Regions from separate parts of the Homo sapiens genome. Here region 2 is linked to region 1. Evidence: promoter capture Hi-C in human tissues and cell types (Jung and others, 2019). All regions are on one chromosome and are shown on one strand. Each heading gives the region's core, a stretch centred on a gene start or on the middle of the fragment in contact. The rest is flanking DNA. Distances are from core to core; before and after follow the strand shown. Region 1 holds the start of FAM91A1 (family with sequence similarity 91 member A1). Region 2 overlaps FBXO32 (F-box protein 32).

What was found. Contacts are between HindIII fragments. The study calls those that stand out against the background at their distance.
Region 2: a fragment that was not itself captured here is called in contact with the fragment with the promoter of FAM91A1 in region 1 in 2 of the 25 tissues and cell types used here (dorsolateral prefrontal cortex and hippocampus).

Annotation. Positions count from the first base shown.
Region 1 is chr8:123,766,003-123,770,116 of GRCh38, forward strand. FAM91A1 (family with sequence similarity 91 member A1) reads left to right here and starts at 2,437. Exons shown (of 24, transcript NM_144963.4): 1 at 2,437-2,772. The coding sequence starts at 2,701. It overlaps LOC105375739 (a long non-coding RNA gene), which reads left to right. Exons shown (of 3, transcript XR_928607.4): 3 at 143-244. RefSeq lists a silencer at 2,623-2,772. The HindIII fragment of the contact is 9,142 bases long and covers 1-4,114 here.
Region 2 is chr8:123,506,010-123,510,123 of GRCh38, forward strand. It overlaps FBXO32 (F-box protein 32), which reads right to left. Exons shown (of 9, transcript NM_058229.4): 7 at 383-565. Among named protein-coding and RNA genes, the nearest start is that of FBXO32, 33 kb to the right of the region's middle. RefSeq lists an enhancer at 476-1,020. The HindIII fragment of the contact is 4,582 bases long and covers 1-4,114 here.

The DNA.
Region 1 (4,114 bases), core at 1,187-3,686:
TGTAGTCTTTCTAAAGGGCCAATTGCCTAAGCTAGTTGGGCAGTTTTCCTCAATCTGATCTTGTAAAGCCAGATAAGACTGAATTTCATTGCACTTGTTTGTGCTTTTGAACACTTTTTTTTTTTTTTTTTTTAACCCACAGTGTTAATTCGAATGGCAGCTTCTGGGATGGGACTTAAACACTCTGCAGTTTCTGACCTCTGTGGAATTTGAAAAGCCAAAGGTCTAGTAAAGTAAAAATTAGCAGGAGCCTCAGTCAGGGACGTAAAGGAAGGACATTATTGCTAAACGAAAAGGTGAGGTGCTGTAATGAGTGTCACATGTGGAGTCAGTCTAGTGAGCGACTGTTTCCAGCTTTCTGATGCTTGGGGAAGCAGTACTGTTCCTGAACTTCCCAGCAGAGGGGGTCATAGAGCCCTGTGGGTTAATTTACCGTCTTTGAACTCCTATCCTCTCAAAGACTGGTCCTTGGTGGGAAATGAGGCAGATCAGTACTTTAATAAGATTGTGTATTAAGCCAGAGTCCATCACTGGTTCCTGCTCGTAAGGGCTTGTTATTTGAATTCTTCCCATCCACATAGCTCTATCTCATTCCCATTTCCTCCTTCATGTGTCTGCTTTTCTCAGCTACTTGCCGAGTGAGAATCTTTTCTAGTCACAGGGTCGCATTTTCAAAGGTCTGTTTGCCTTATTAATTTAATGGGTGTAGGTTCACCTCTACTTATCCCACGTTCACTTTTATAGTTTTTGATGTGTCCACTAAACTCAATATAGTGAGTTTATCAGGCATTCACCTGCTGAACTGCTATCATTAGCTAAAATAATAGTTTACAGGGATTTTTTTAAGCTAAATTGACTTTAATTTTCATTGTTACTTATATTGCATTAGATCTAAGTTAGACTTTGGAAGAATATGGGTTCTTCCACACTTAGAACTGTAAAGCATTATTTTAGAGGATGTTTATGTCGTTGACTTTGAATGAACATTGTCTAAATTGGAACAGGAGGTAGAAGAGTTCAGTGAGTGAGAGCCTGAGTTGGGGAACTGAAAGGATGGCTCTGGAGTGAGGATAGCCTTCGGCTCCAGTTTGGCTCTGTCAGTGCTACCTGTGTGATCTTGCGAGCAAGTCATGAAGCCCTGCCAAGCCTCAGTCTCCTCCTCTATCAAACTGGGATAGTAAGTGGTTACTGTTGTAGGAATATCAGGGTTGTGAGGAATAATCTATTGTCAAGTCAAGGCCTTAATACATGGCGGGCAGGTAATCAATATTTGTTGAATAAATGTCTCACGGTTAGAGTTCAGTTAACCTTAGCTATGCTGATGAGGATCTGTAAACATAAGGTTCAAAGCACTTATCTTTGGGTTATTATAGTTGGATAATAGGAGACCAAAACATCTAAGCAAGGGCAGTGTGTACTTGTCACCTTTATTTCATCAGACATAATGGGGTTTCTGCTAAGCATCAGACTTGCCAGCTGTTGAGGTGTGAGCTAGGTATCTTATAAAAAGTTCTAAGTATACATCTCCCAGTATATAATAAAACATTATTTAAAACCATTGTTAAAAACTGAAAAACAGTTGCAATAACACTGAACTTGTCTCTGGTTGCTGCCAGGAATAATGGTCACGGGTTTGCTAAGGCAGCGTAACAACTTCTGAAAGAAATTATTCCCAAAGACCTTATCACTCAATCTGAAATTAAGACATGCTGGATTTTTGCTTTTAAGTGACTCTGGAGGCATTTGTGTGGAGCAGAATAAAGCAGAAACCGACAGGCTGCATGACAAAGTTGGCAAGGGTATCTCTCTGTCAGCCCTGTAGGCTGCCTCGACCTGTCAGCACCACTGTTTAAAATTTCAGCTCCCTGAATCCCTGCATTGTAAGAATTTGGATCTTCTTGGGAAGTGGAGCCCAATGACGTGCAGCACACCGCGGAAGGGAAGAGGGCTTACCAGACCTTTGCTCTCCCACTGCCCATGCTTCTCGCTCAACCCGGTGCGAGACCTGACTTAGAGATTATTTCTTTCTCCAGGGCCCTGGACCCGTCCCCGCAACCCCCCGCCCCGTCTCACTGGCCCGGGTTCCGGGCTGGCCTGTGGAGAACCCCCGCGAGCGCACCGCACTCCAATGTAAAGCCAGCCACTGCCGGCCCGCTTCCCAGGTCGCTTTTCTCTGAAAACCGACCCCAGTGCCTCCGGCTTTACAATTTGAGTAAACTGGGTCATCAGCAACGGCAACGCAGACCCAAGCGACTATCGCCGTTCATTCAGAGACTGAAACGGGGAGACGAAGCGCGCGGGCGGGGAACGCTCACCCGGGCACCTCCCGGTACCTCGTCGTCGCCCCGCCCCGCAGCCTGTAGAGGGCGTGGCTAGAGGCCAGTCCGTGCCCCGCCCCTCCGGCCGCGCGCCAGCGGGCGGAAGTGACGTGTGCCCAGAGCCATTTCCGGCGGCCCGAAACTAGGAAGAAACTTGGAGCTGTTCAGGCGATCCAGCCTCCAATCGCTGCTGCTCTTGTACTCGGTTGGCCCGGGCGGCGCTGAACTGTCGGGAGCCTAGGCCATGGGGCAGCCTGGGCCTTCTGCAGTGTGAGGCGCGGGGCCTCCCGCGTCGCTCCGCTGACAGGCTGCGGGCGGGCAGGCGGGAGGCGTAGTGTGGGTCGCGGTGGCGGCCCCGGCCGCCGGCCCTGGCCGCGGCATCATGAACATAGACGTGGAGTTCCACATCCGGCACAACTACCCCTGGAACAAGTTGCCGGCCAACGTGAGACAGGTACGGCCGGAACCTGGGACCGGGCCCCTGACGGATTCGGCCCGCCCAGCGGTCACCTGCTTGCCTCGCTCGCGGGGCCCGAGCGGGCTGCTGCCGGCTGACTCCCTTCCTTTACTCCTCCGTGGTCTTGGGGAGACGGACCTTCAGCCCAGGGCGAGGAGGGGACGGCTGTGGGGCCACAGGGCCAGGACGGGGCGATCGCTAAATGGGATGGCATGGTGTCCACAGGACTCGACTGGCGCCTTTGCCCGCAGGATACATTCAGCCAGGCACCTGCGATAGAGATTTTAAACACGGTCCTTGACCTCCGGAATTTCAGGATGGTGGGAAAGGGATGGGAAACAAATGAATACGATACAGGATGATAGCAGCTCATACACACCTGCATTGTAGTATATGTGAGAGCAGAGGGAGGGAGAAATTATCCTGGGAGAGTTGGAAGGATTTTTAAGGCAGGCACTTAAATTGGGCCTTGGAGGACGAATAAGAGTTAAATAAGAGGGAATAAAGATTTTTCCAGGGGGAGGGAAAGTCATTTTACAAAGCTTGGATGAGTGAAAGAACATGTCTCATGAGTAGCAAGTGACTGTATCACCAGAGTTTGGACTGACATGTTTGGAGTTGAAGTTTTTTGAGTGCGCGGGGCTGGTAGCAGATGAGCCTGGAAAAGTGGTCAGGGCCAGATTTTGAAGGTGCTTGTGTGCTTTGTTTTGTTGGACTTTATCCTCCAGACAAGATGGGTTTATCAGAGATGTTTCAACAAGAGTGACATGAGGTTTTTGAAAGTTAATTCTCGATTTTTTTAGTCTGTTTTACTCAATTGTTTAATAGATATTTATTGACCACCTACTAGGTGCTGTGCGTTGCTCTAGGTGCAGGTAATTTGCAACAGTCAACAAGACAAAGACTGCCTTCATGGAGCTTACATTTTACTAAAGAAAGACGTAAACAAATAAATGAATAAATACGTAACATAGCAGATGGTTTTAAGTCTTACGAAAGTAGTGATATGGGCTACAGATAACGCACTGCTGCTCTGGTCATAGATTGACCTTCGCTTCCTCCCATTATACTTGGTCGAGAGTGAAATTCAGTTTTCTGTTGGCACTCGGCAGTGGCATTTTTGGGAAGTTTGGAATGGTGGCGGTGATGGTATATAAGGATTATTTATTTATTTTTATTTTTATTTTCATTTCTTTGAGACAGAGTCTCCTGTTGCCCAGGCTGGAGTGCAGTGGTGTGATCTCCGCTCACTGCAAACTCTGCTTCTTGGGTTCAAGCGATTCTCCTGCCTCAGCCTCCCGAGTAGCTGGTACTACAGGTGCGCGCCACCACGCCCAGC
Region 2 (4,114 bases), core at 913-3,412, 260 kb before region 1:
GGCCAGGAGTTTGAGGTCAGCCTGGGCAACATAGAGAGACCCTATTTCTACAAAAACAATAATAAAAAAATTATCCGGGTGTTGTGGCATGAGCCTGTAGTCCCAGCTACTCGGGAGGCTGAGGTGGGAGGGTTGCTTGAGCCCAAGTGGCTGAGGTTACAGTGAGCTATGATTGCATCACTGCACTCCAGCCTGGGCCACAGAGCGAGACCCTGTCTCAAAAAACAAAATCACAAAACTCCTTCAACTGTCATTTTTCAGTCAAACCAGGGAACCTGGAATAGGGGGAACCCAGACCTCAGGCTTGAGCAGGGCACCAAGGAAGTTTGGGGTGAGGGCCAGAGAAGGAGGGTGGGAGGAAAGCCCACTGGGCCTTGCTGACCTGCCGCTCGGAGAAGTGGTACTGGCAGAGTTTCTTCCACAGCAGCCGGTCTTCGCTGAGCACGTGCAGGTCGGGGGCAGCCTGGCCCAGGCTGACCAGGTCCCGCCCGTCGCTCAGCCTCTGCATGATGTTCAGTTGTAGGCACAAAGGCAGGTCAGTGAAGGTGAGGCCTTTGAAGGCAGGCTGCAGAGAGAAGGGTGACAATAGGTGGGGGGGCCAGAGAGCAGCGATTCACCAGGCCACACCCTCCAGGCATGCAGCTGTGCCCGTCCTCCACCCTCAAGGCAGTTTATTGATAAGAGGTCGAAAGCAGTAGTAAATCTCCCCATCCTAAATGCAGACAGGAGACCATGGCCATGACCCTCAATGAAGTGTGGAGTGCGCTGAGCTGAGTGGTGCCAGAGGGATCGCCCTACATTTCCAAAGCTTGAAACTTTCACTCTTAAAGACTCTCCAAATAGCGCATGTGCTTTACTCAGTTCACACAATTACAAGGTTCGCTGCTTTCCTGAAGGCCTCACTGCCCTGGATGGAGTGGCCCAGCCTGCCACCCCAAGTCCCATCTCTCTGGCCCCCCTCCAGACATCAGGTCCCTCCAAGTAGGTTTACTCACTGGCACCTAAACACACCTGGCTCAGCCTGACCTCAATGCCTTCGCCTCCCCAGTCTTCTCTGCCCGGCCACGTGGTCATCCTGCTCAGATCCAGTTCAAACCTACTTCCTCTGAAAGGCCTTTTCTGTTTTTGTGACTCCCTTACTCACTGCACCTTCCTAGAATTCTTAGGATCTCTTTGAGACACATTTTGCAATATCCTTCTTTTTGTCATGCAACATGAGCTTTTTTTCTAAAAGAAACTTTGAAAGGAACATTCTTGCTGGAACTTAAGCTCTATGAAGGAAGGAATTTTAATCTTTTTTCACTACTGTGTCCAGGGTGTCTACAAGAGTGCCCAGCACACAGAAGGTGCTCAACAAATACCTGTGGAATGAATGAAGCCCAAATAATTAAATAGGTAGAAAACAATAACACAGAGACTCTGTGCTAGGGTGTGTGTGTGTGTGTGTGTGTGTGTGTGTGTGTGTGTGTGTACGTGCACATTGGGAATGGCAGGTCCAGAAGCCTTTGGCCCAAGCTCCACCATCCCTTGAGACTTCTCTATTTCAACCGAGGCCTCCGTGGAGCATTGTGAAAACTGCTGGTCTGTGGATGATACCTTGGCAATTAATGGCGAGCTTCTCCAAGAGCTTCTGGTACATCCCTGAACTTATTAATATATTTAAGCCTTTATTGTTTTAAATTTTGATGAGCTCATGATACCCTGCCCAGATCTACATCCTTGAAGGCAGGGTCTAATTTTATGTCCCTTGTAGACTAGCCCAGCACAAGCCACCTCTCCTGAGTGCCTACTATGGCCTGGTGCTGAAGTGGCTGCACTGAGCTCTTCAGGCTGGTGAGAGACCCAGAGGCAGAAACAAATAATCATAAAATAATATGAAATAATACAGTAAACGCTGTCATGGAGGGAAGCACAAAGCGCTGTGGGAAGAATCTGCACCTGGGAATCCGCATATGTATTTGCTGATGTGTCTTGAACAGCAACAGGATGCTGCCATCCAGATAAGTCAATAGACCACCTGGGACTGCGGTTCCTTGTCCTGCCCCTGCTGGTTCTGGGTGAGCTCTTGATTTTGGACTACTCACATTTTTCCATCAATGTTCTGTGACCTCTGAGAGGTCACAGGGGAAAAATAATACAGGATGAAGAAACCCTTCCTTAGCTCAGGGGAAAATATCCTGAGAATGGGTATCAATTTCCCTGCCCAAATTTTTACAGGAGCCAAACTCTGTACAAAGCACATCGAAGCCTAAACACATGGAGGATTCCAGGAGACACTAGGTCTGGGCAGTTCTCTCCTGTGTCCCCAGCAAGGCAGGGTAGGCACGAGGTGGGGAGGGAGCAGTGGCAAGGGGCCTTGGGAAGGCTAAGCTATGGAGAAGAATGGGAGGTGCAGGGGAGCAACATGGATGGACAGGCAGCACATCTGGATCCCAGCTCCCCTGGGAAGTCTCCCCATGTCCAAAATGAATGGCTTAGAAGACTCTGAAGATCCCTTCCAGCTCCAACAATCTCAGATGTAGAAGGACTTCAGCCTCCTATTTCATTCAAAGTATCTATGACTTGACAATTTATACCGCTCGGTTCTACCCCAGGCTGCTGGGCAGAGCTCTCAATTGTTTGCAAACTTCAGGTCTTTGCCAACCGCAGAAGGCCCTAGACCTATTTATCGTTTATCATCTCCTGCTGATCATATGAGCTAATAAAACTGCCATGAGATTTTCTTTTCGTTTCCAACACTTCAAAGCCTCTACTTTTTTGGTTAAAACTCCCAGGCCAATTATTACATTAACTCCTATTAAAGGCAAGTCCACTTGGCAGGGTTCACTCTGTCAAATTTTCAAACCTGAACTTTTCCAAAATCCTTGCCCAGACCCCATGCTAAGCCCTTCCTCCTGATAAGTGGTTAACTGCTTACATGCCTCTTCCTTTCGAATATAAACGTATAAAAGAAAAATTAGTCACTCTCGCTCCTCTAGTCAAGCATTTGGCTAACATCCACTAGGGTCTATGTCACTCCTCACATGCTTCAAAACAGTGCCCTGCCCACCGCATACTGTCACTGTATTTGATTTTTTCCCCAAGACCCAGTTCTCTTAATTTGTTTCCTTCATTCTTTATTATATTAATTATTTTGCCAATAAAAATTGGCTCCATAGAATTAGATATAAAAATTTTGCAGGAAAACAAAATTTTATGCTGGAAGGAGACTGACAGAACTTTGGCAAAATAGAAAGCATTTACTCTGAAAGTTGACTTTATATTTGCCTATAATAATGTACTTTTCTTTGGGCCAAACTGTTAAAAAAGTAAGTTTTAAAATACAGTCCAGACTGAAGTAATTAAGTCTTTTTTCTTTCTCTCTCTCTCAATTTCTCTTTCCTCTGCAGAGTTGAGCTTCTGTGTGGAGGCTGGGCTCAGTGGCTCATGCCTGTAATCCTGGTACTTTGGGAGGCTGAAGCGGGAGGATTGCTTGAGCCCAAAAGTTCGAGATCAGCCTGGGCAAGATGGTGAAACGCCATCCCTACTAAAAATACAAAAATTAGCTGGGTGTGGTGGCGAGTGACTGTAGTCCCAGCTACTCGGGAGGCTGAGGTGGGAGAATCATGTGAGCCCAGGAGGCCAAGGCTGCAGTGACCTAGGACCATGCCACTGCACTCTAGCTTGGGCAAGGGGAATAAGACCCTATCTCAAAAACAAACAAACAAACAAACAAACAAAAACAAAAAAAGAAAAGCCCTTTAAGGCTCCGTGGGTTCCAGTACAGCTCTCAATATAAGGAAGCTCAGAGCCAAGGAGGGTTGGGACAGAGGACAGTGGGAGGAAGGTACAGTGGTTGAAAGCACAGCCTCTGTGGACAGGCCTGGGTTCAGTTCTTGTGCCACATCCTACTAAGCATGAGGCATCAGCCAAATTATTCTTAACTACTTGTTCTAATTGTTCTCATTTATAACATGAGAAAAAGCTTATCCTACATTGTTGCTGGGTGGGGCAGATGAGATAATACATAGAAGCACTCAGTACAGCGCCCAATAAATGCTAGCCACTGTGATGACTCCTATTTACAATTCTTCACTAGGTGAGTTAATTAATACATGCAAAGGACTTAGAAGAA